Regions from separate parts of the Homo sapiens genome. Here region 1 is linked to region 2. Evidence: promoter capture Hi-C in 16 types of primary human blood cells and fetal thymus (Javierre and others, 2016). All regions are on one chromosome and are shown on one strand. The core of a region is centred on a gene start or on the middle of the fragment in contact, and the rest is flanking DNA. Distances in the headings are between cores, read along the strand shown. Region 1 overlaps LINC02042 (long intergenic non-protein coding RNA 2042). Region 2 holds the start of NEPRO-AS1 (NEPRO antisense RNA 1).

Region 1 (4,226 bases), core at 254-2,753, 280 kb after region 2:
GGTCCCATTCTACTTTCTCTGACTGATCAGGTCACTGTTTTCAGCTACCTGGCCCTTCTAAGTCAGGGTCACTAGAGTATTGGGAGGTTTGTAACTTCTTCATTGGTGTCTTGTGTTTTCCTGTCTTTGAACTTGAGGAAAGCTGGCCCTGGATGTTCACAACATCAACCAAGCAATGAAAACCACAGCACCCTACAGGAAATTCTGCATTTCTCTCAAAACATGCAAAACACAAAATTGGGTGGAACCACAGAAGGTTATGGATAACTCACTACAGTTTGGACTTTCAAAGGTAAAATGTAATATTTGACTCATGGCTATCACTTCTGGGAGATTTTTCAGGAGAGATATCTATGTTTCTGAAAGTCTGTATGCTTGCCTTTATTTTTTCTAACTTACTATAAATTCTTGTCAGTTCTGGACATTTTGGTTAAACTTGTTTCTACTGTTACTTGTTCATGCTGTCGACTAATAAAAAAGACAGTGTTTTTAAGACTGTGCTTCATGGAGCCCTAGGGGCTTGAAAAAGCATTTCAGGAGCTATTTTGGGGCCAGGGAGAGGCTGAGTGAGTCAGGAACCAGATCATGCTGTTTCTGTCACCAAATACAAACACACACACACAGATACAATATCAAGTATAAAATCAGACACAAACTCCAATAAAAATAATCCCTTGTATATACTATAAATAATATGTATTATATATATGTGTATATATACATATATGTGTATGTATATATCTATATGTATACATGGTATATATACATATATACTATGAGGTTGTATATATACTATGCCTCACATAGTATATACACACATCTATAGCATATATGTGTATATACTCTGTGTGTGTGTGTATATATATATATTTGTTTTTAAACTACGAAACTGTACATAAAACTTTGGAGAAACGAGTTCGTTAATTAAAATGAGTTTGAAAATCTCTGGGTCAACTATCCAAAAATGTGTATATAGTTGAATACAATCCATGAAATCCTAAGTAATATACCAGTAGAGAATAGAATTTGCAAGATTACATTCCTTTTAATCAAGTTCTGTGCACATTAGAAAGAATTTAGTACAGACAAAAAGCCATGCTCATTCATTTAGACATTCATTCTGCTACTATTTACTGACACTTTTTTTGTATGTGTTCCAGGCCCTGGGAAAACTATCCTACTTTTGTGAGATACTATTGTTCTACCTGTAATGCAAGTGAACAGATCTTAATAAGGACAAATAACAATTTTTTAAATGTTTACCATATTTTCTCATTTGTTCCTTTCATCAAGCATCCAACCTGCCAGGTAATTATTATTATCTGCTTGCTTCAAATAAGGAAAGTAAACCTCAGAGAAATTAAGCAATTTTTTCATGGTCAGTCATCCAGTGAATAGCCTTTCAACTCTTTCCTAACCCTCTCCAGTTTGTCAGCTTAGCTGTGGGAGCTCAGACAGGGCACACTCTCTCTGAGCTCAGCTGAATCACATATAAAATACATGTAATATCTTTCCTATCTCATATGGTTGCAAAACTTTAAAAGAGCTAATATGTGATAGTGCTTTTCAAGGCAAAAATCAAGCCATATTATACTGGTACCAGGTGATGAATTATTTTTACTGGACTTTGTGCTTGATTTTTCTACCCTGGGCTTTGCTAATCAGAAGGTCAGAATCAATCATTATACAACTATGGATCAAAAGCAAGGCATGGGCAATTGAAAAGACCACAAGTTAGAACAATGCTTCTCAAAATATCTGGGATTAAAAACCAGCTAGTTCTTTTAAATTCCCAGTTCCTCATGGATGAATACACAAAATATAAACACCTCTTTTTTTGTCATTAGCTTTAAGGGATTTAAAATTATTGCATTCTAAATGCAATTCTCAATTTCGGTATGAATCTTGTCATGAACTGATAAGAAACAGTTGTCAGTAGTCTGTGAACACACTTTCAACACTACTGGGTTAGGATATCCTCAAATTGGTTGAAGTTTGAATTTTCAAAATTCTTTACAGAGTTGTCCTTGAACCTACAAATATGAACCAAAAATCAGCCCCCAAAAAAAGAGAATGGGAGAAGAAAAAAGGTTCTTCACACTCTATATCAGGTTCCCTAGTCTAGAGAAATATAAAGGGGAAATTTTGTCCAAAAGCAGTCATTTCATGATTTATGTAATAGAGATGCTCCAACCAAGGACACCATAAAACCAATTTGTGTAAAGCAGGTTTTATGTATATCCATCAGAAAACTCCTCTAAATGCTTCAACTAAAATTGAGAGGTAGTTGAAGGATTTTGCTTTCTCCTCTATAGAGTGAGAGGTTATATTAATATTCCTTCTAATATTTTGTGCTTTTGCATTGGAAGCTAACTCAGTGCCTGGGTATTAGAACAAACCAGCAGAATTTCTCTGGTAGGAACTTTCTGCCCAGAGACCTCTGTTCTATTGCTTTTCCCTTGCTGTTACTCACAACCGCGTGTAACAATCTCATACCTTAGTTCTCTTCTTTTTTCCTGATATTTAGAATGCCTAGTAGAGCCGCAAATGGCATGTCATATTTTGTCAGGAGATGGCATTGACTAATGTGTGCAGAAAACACCCCTGAGTTAGATACTTTGAGTCATGTACGATGACCAGTTCAGTATTTAACACTTGACAAAGCTCAAAGCTGTTTACATGAAATGTATATTTTTGGCTTCTGGTAGTCTATGCTGCTATTACGGAAGGTTATAGTTAGCAGGTTTAAGAAATATTTTTTTGGGCTTTCTAGAATGAATAATTTGAATGGTACCAGCAGCAATTCTTTGTGAGCTGAAGGCTTGATGCAGTCTCTTAGGACCTGTCCTTTTAGAAGTAAGAGCGGGTTCTTAGAGGCCACATCCTGCCTTTCAGATAGAGATATCAGCTTCTACCAGGAATAGTTCCTTTCATACTACACTTAAGTAGGCAGTGAGAATAATCAGCACGATTGAAACTACCTTTGCAAAATTATGACTGAGACAGCGAAAGAGATCTAACTTAACTGACTCCATCTTGCTTCTAACCTCCATGCTGTCTTTTTCATTCCTGGGCGTAGGACGAACTAACTTTGAGAGAAATTTAGTTTATAGTTTAAAAAAAAAGATGGTAACAGCCCTTTCCCAAAGCAGACCTCCTTCTTGCCTGGGGACTAGACCAATATTAGCCAGAAGGTTAGAAATTACGGTTTAGGAGTCATGCAGCTGGAGGCTATAAGAATCTGACTCCCTAAACTGCTCCTAAGATCAGTGCTTGAGATACTTTGCAGACCCTGCACTTGATGGATCAGCTGGCACCACCCAAATCAATAAACCGGCTCATCTGATCTTGTGGCACCCACCCAAGAACTGACTCAGCACAAGGAGACAGCTTCGACTCCCTGTGATTTCATCCCTGTCAACCAGCACTCCTGGCTCACTGGCTTCCCCCCACCCAACCAAGTTATCCTTAAAAACTCTGCTCCCTGAATGCTCAGGGAGTTTGATTTGAATAATAATAAAACTCCAGTCTCCTGCACAGCCGGCTCTATAAATTACTCTTTCTCTATTGCAATTCCCCTGTCTTGATGAATCGGCTCTGTCTAGGCACCGGGCAAGGTGAACCCCTTGGGTGGTTACACTAGCATTGGTTTTTGTTTGCCACTGCAGCATTAATTATGTGTTTTTTATGGCAATAGAAATTTTTTTTTACTGCCTTTCCTCAATGTTACATGAAGACATATTTCACAAGTAGGCCAAGTACAAAGTAGGAATAGAAGCTAGAATGGAATCATAGACCAGATTCTTACATAGATCACATCAGCCAGGCTGAGGCTCCATCTGTGTGCATGGCACGGCACAGCTGCGTTGGTTGCTTATAGCTAGCATCTGTTCTGATTGGTTGGTGCCTGTGGCTTTTCAGTTGCTCAGAGTTTTGAATACCAACCCTGGGTACACAGTTATCTCTGAAAGCTAAAATGGTGAAATATAACACATAATGAATGCAATGAGCCAGCTCTAGACACAACCAAGAGAATTCCCGTAACTGGGAACCTGAGAAAGTATAAAAGCACTTAATTGAAGGTGTAAATGAGAGAAAGCAGGTTTGAAATGCAACCAAAACAAAGCCCACACATAGACAACTGTATTTATAAGTTGTTTCTAAATGGGAATGGAACGGTGTTTTTCCGGGAATCTAGGGAACAGTCTCTCTACGGCGACTTTTCT
Region 2 (4,432 bases), core at 487-2,986:
GAATTTGGAGTTCTAAAACAGATGTGATTAAGTTAAAGATTCTGAGATGGAGTGACTATCCTGATTATCTTGATGGGCTCAATGTAATCACAAGGGTGTTTTTAAGAGGGAGGCAGGCAGGAGGGTGAGAGAGACAGAGGAAGAGGAGGAGACTGAAAAATGTCATGCTGACAATGAAGGTGGAGGATAGTGAAATGAGCCAAGGAATGAAGGCAGCCTCTAGAAGCTGGAAAAGGAAAGGAAATGAATTCTTCCCTAGAGATTCCGGAAGGAACCAGCCCTGCCAACTTCAGTCCATTGAAATTAATTTTGGACTTCTGACCTCCAGAAATGTAAAATAACTTCTACTTATTTCAAGCCATTAGGTTTGTCGTAATTGGTTACAGCAGCAATAGAAAACTAATACATAGGCCAACATAGGGCACTGTGGTAACACATTAAAGGGGCCTCTGTATCAAGTTATGGAGTGAGGACGGGGTGTTTAGGAAGAATTACCCCAAGTGACGACCCCAGAGCTGAGGAAAGGAGATTGTGTTTCCGAGGATGACCCAGGTAGAGTAGGTAGATGTGTAAAGGCGCACAGAAAGAGCATGGAAAGTGTTTCAATAAAGTAAGACTGCTTGCATGAAATAGTAGTAATAACATCAACAATATTAACTATGGTAAATGTTCATTGTTTGTATGCCAGGAGTGCCTTGGCATTTTACAAGTCTGTGAGATTGATACTATTATTATCATCTTCATTTTACCCACAGGGATACTAAGGTCTGGAGGAGGAGGTAAGTAAATTTCCTGAGATCACCGAGCTAGTAAACAGCAAAGCTAGAACTAGAACCTTGGCAGTCTGTTTCCAAAACTCACTGTTTTTCTAATACGTTACTGTGGGAGTGTTAAGAACTTAAGGGGGCATTAGCATGGCTGAGGATAAATGAATTATTAGAAAGATATTAATGAGGTAAGGATCACTAGAGCTTGGAATATGATCTTGTCTTGGAGACTGACAAAAGTGGGAATGACTGACAGGTGTCTTCCAAGTTTCTTTGATGTGATCTCGGTTTTGCTGTGGTTCAAGACATAAAGGAGCCTTCCTTTACCACTCAAAGCAAATCACTGCTTCTTCGCTACAAATTCCACACCTTGCACAAACCTCTTCATTTCATTTCTTCCTTTTTCCCCTAATGTCTGAGGCAGAGTTGGGGGTAAAAGCACCAACTCAATTCTGGGCCTCATTTTCCATATTTGTAAAATGCCTAGAAGTATTTAACAGTTCCAAACTTGGTTGTGCTTCCGAATCCCCTGCGCTAAGTTTAAACAAAACGCAGATTCCTCATCGCATTCTCAGAGATTCTGTTGGTTAGTATTGGGATGGGGCCTTTTTTCCCCCATGATTCTACGCGGCCACGTGTTGGTAACCAATATACAGATGACTGGGTCCTTCCCAGTCCCACGCGTTTACTCGATGAAGGCAGCCTCCCGCCGGGCTCCTGGCCCCGCCCGAGCCCCACCCCCTGCTCCCTTCCGGCCCGGACTGGGTCCCATCGCCCCACCTCCGGTCGCTGGACGTGCTCTCGCGTAGCTCCGCCTTTCGTAAGTCCCCCCGCCTCGCATGATGGCTGCGGTGCCGCCGGGCCTGGAGCCGTGGAACCGTGTGAGAATCCCTAAGGCGGGGAACCGCAGCGCAGTGACAGTGCAGAACCCCGGCGCGGCCCTTGGTGAGTGAGGCGCCGGGCGAGGATGGGGGAACGTTTCCGGGGGAGGCCGCCAGGCCCAGCCGGCGCATGTGGGCGGGGGTGGTACCGGGACTTCCCGGCCCGGGGGACGCTGGGAAGGGGCGCGGGGCACGTAGGGGTCGAGCGGTCCCAGCACTTTGCTGGTGTAGCTTGTAGGGCCTCTGGCTTCGCATTCCTTCATTGAACCAGCTGTGCTAACCCAGGGCTTGGCTGGAGAGATGAAAGACCAAGGCTCAGCCGTGCGCTGAGGGGGCGGAGAGAGGTGGACTCAGCTGGTGCCGGGGAACAGTGCTGCCTGGGAACCCTTGCTCACCCGGGTCTTCGGAGTCTTGTTTACCCTTCCGTCCATTTCCCCTTTCCTTCTTTTTCCTGTACCCGAGGAGCGGTGGACGTCACCTAAGCACTGGGACTCAAACTGCAATCTTTTCGGACCTCTATCTGCTTATCTGTGAAATGGAGTTAGTCCTCCTACTCCTCACAGGGGCGTTGGGAATATCTAATGATGTAATTTAGGAGACAGTGCGCTGTAAACGACGGTGTTTTGCCACCTAAATGGGTGGTATTTGTTAGGGTGAAGGGCATATAGTAGGTAGGAGCCTGGCGCAGGAGCCAGGTTGTTTGGGTTTGAATACTAGCTCTACCCTTTGCTGGAGCTTGAAGGAGTCATTGAACCTTTCTGTGCCTCACTGATCTCACTTTCAAATGGAGATAAAAGCACCTTCCTCATAGGGCTGTTTGGGGGGATGAAAGAGTTGATAATGTAGAGAAAGCATTTGGAACACTGCCTGGCATGGTAAATGAACACTCAAATGGAAGCTGTTATGAATATTAAATACGTAGCTCCGGGGCCCAAGGGAGAGAATACAGTCATGGGTTCTTTGTTTCCGGTTGGGCTGGTAAAGCCCTTTCCTCATCCCTCTTTTCACTAGAGACAAACTAAAAACCATGGCTTTAAGCTGCAAAAAGCCTAAAACAAAACAGAACAGAACAACAAAATAAGGCGGGTTGGACAAGCTTGACTTAGATCATCACATCCCCTTTCCCATATATCCATCCTACACACTTTACAGATTATCCCATCTATCCTTCCTACACACTTTACAGATTAATCTTCCCTCTTTCTCTATTCAAAAATTCTTTAACAACTCCTATTAGGCCTGGGAAATTCACCAACTCACTACCCATCCCCGAGGCAGCCCATTCTGTCTTCAGGTAGTTGTTGGGACAGTAAGAAAATTCTTGTTAGGTAGCAACCAGCCTTTACTTCCATTTAGAATGCTAGTGCTGCCTTTAGAGCCATAAATAACACATGAACTACATCTTAGGGACTTCTACAGATTTTCAGACTAGGAAGCATCTGCTGATGAGCACCCGGTGTTCATCAAATAATACGATTTCCAGTTACTGTGGTGGTTTTTCTTTTCTGAATATGTTTGTGTCTCTCATAAAGTGATATCCAAACACAGAAGCCTTGATTTTGAAGACTGTGAATTTATTCATTCTGTCTTGCTTTCGGGCATAGCGACATGGGGAGTTAGAGAGTTATTACACATGTTGTGACATGTGCCCTACCTTCAAGGTGGGGGTTAAGTGTACACATGAGGCGTAAGTGTACACCAAATGACTGACAGCAAAGTATTCATATGAAAGATTATTAAACCATGATAAAATGCAATGCAAAGATACAGCTTCTTGTTTTACAGATGTTCTCTTAATGATTTCCTGGACTTTATATCATCTGTTACCATTTTCCAACTTCTCTTATACTTAGAATCCTTACGTTCTTACAGTTGAGACTGATTACATTAGTTTTTGATTCCTTTAAAACAAATAAGGAAAGATGCTTTTTTTAGTGTGTTTTTAATATAATATACTTACTGTAGAAATACATACTAAATCTTATTAGATGTCTCTGCTTCAGACCTTTGCATTGCAGCTGTAATTAAAGAATGCCATCTCGTCATACTGTCGCTGAAGAGCCAAACCTTAGATGCAGAAACAGATGTGTTATGTGCAGTCCTTTACAGCAATCACAACAGAATGGGCCGCCACAAACCCCATTTGGCCCTCAAACAGGTGAGGAAGCCCGGTAGGTGAGACCCAACCTGTTCACTTGAAAATGTAGATCACACTGCCACTTACTATATTGCTATTTATGGAAATCTCGTGGAAATCTCAGTAAATTACTTGTGTTTTATAGGCCTATAGCCCACAGTTACATGTGCACTTTCTTTTTTTTTCCTAAAAGCATTTCAGCATTTCAAAAAGTAATTTTTGTTAGAAAAGAAGTATGTTTAGATTCTTTCCCAGTCTTGTTTCTAATAGGCAAGTAAACATTTTCTTCATTATATACAATCTATAACAACAGTGCCTTTGCCCAGCTCAAAGATAAAGTGATTTGAGCAAGACAAAATGTTGGACATTAAGAAACAGTTCCCTGGGCATAATCAGAATGCTAAAATTATTTTTAAAAAAACTTGTCTACTTATTATGGGGTACATAATCTAATTGGTGGTATGTTAGAGTAAATGGGTACATAGCAAGTTGTGGTGTAAACTGGTTTCATGTAATGTTTGGAGCTTAAGACAAAATTGGGCCCTCCAGCTCAGGGGCTATACCATAGAGTAGAGCCTCTCTTAAGCTGGCTTCCTGATATGCTCATTCATTCATTCACTTAATTCTGCAAGTATTTTCTGGAAGTT

The links. The method cuts DNA at HindIII sites, captures the fragments that hold promoters and counts their contacts. A CHiCAGO score of 5 or more calls a contact.
Region 1: a fragment that was not itself captured here is called in contact with the fragment with the promoter of NEPRO-AS1 in region 2 in 3 of 17 cell types (non-activated CD4 T cells, activated CD4 T cells and total B cells); the score reaches 6.0 in non-activated CD4 T cells.

The regions. Positions count from the first base shown.
Region 1 is chr3:112,735,760-112,739,985 of GRCh38, reverse strand. LINC02042 (long intergenic non-protein coding RNA 2042) reads left to right here. Exons shown (of 5, transcript NR_110017.1): 3 at 1-292; 4 at 1,161-1,308; 5 at 3,290-3,537. MIR9900 (microRNA 9900) reads right to left here and starts at 2,897; the gene lies at 2,805-2,897. The HindIII fragment of the contact is 7,250 bases long and covers 1-4,226 here.
Region 2 is chr3:113,016,822-113,021,253 of GRCh38, reverse strand. It overlaps NEPRO-AS1 (NEPRO antisense RNA 1), which reads right to left and starts at 1,736. Exons shown (of 3, transcript NR_186663.1): 1 at 1,548-1,736. RMP64 (ribonuclease MRP subunit p64) reads left to right here and starts at 1,583. Exons shown (of 9, transcript NM_015412.4): 1 at 1,583-1,712; 2 at 3,652-3,806. The coding sequence starts at 1,607. RefSeq lists a silencer at 1,795-1,904 and an enhancer at 2,065-2,134. The HindIII fragment of the contact is 8,907 bases long and covers 1-2,746 here.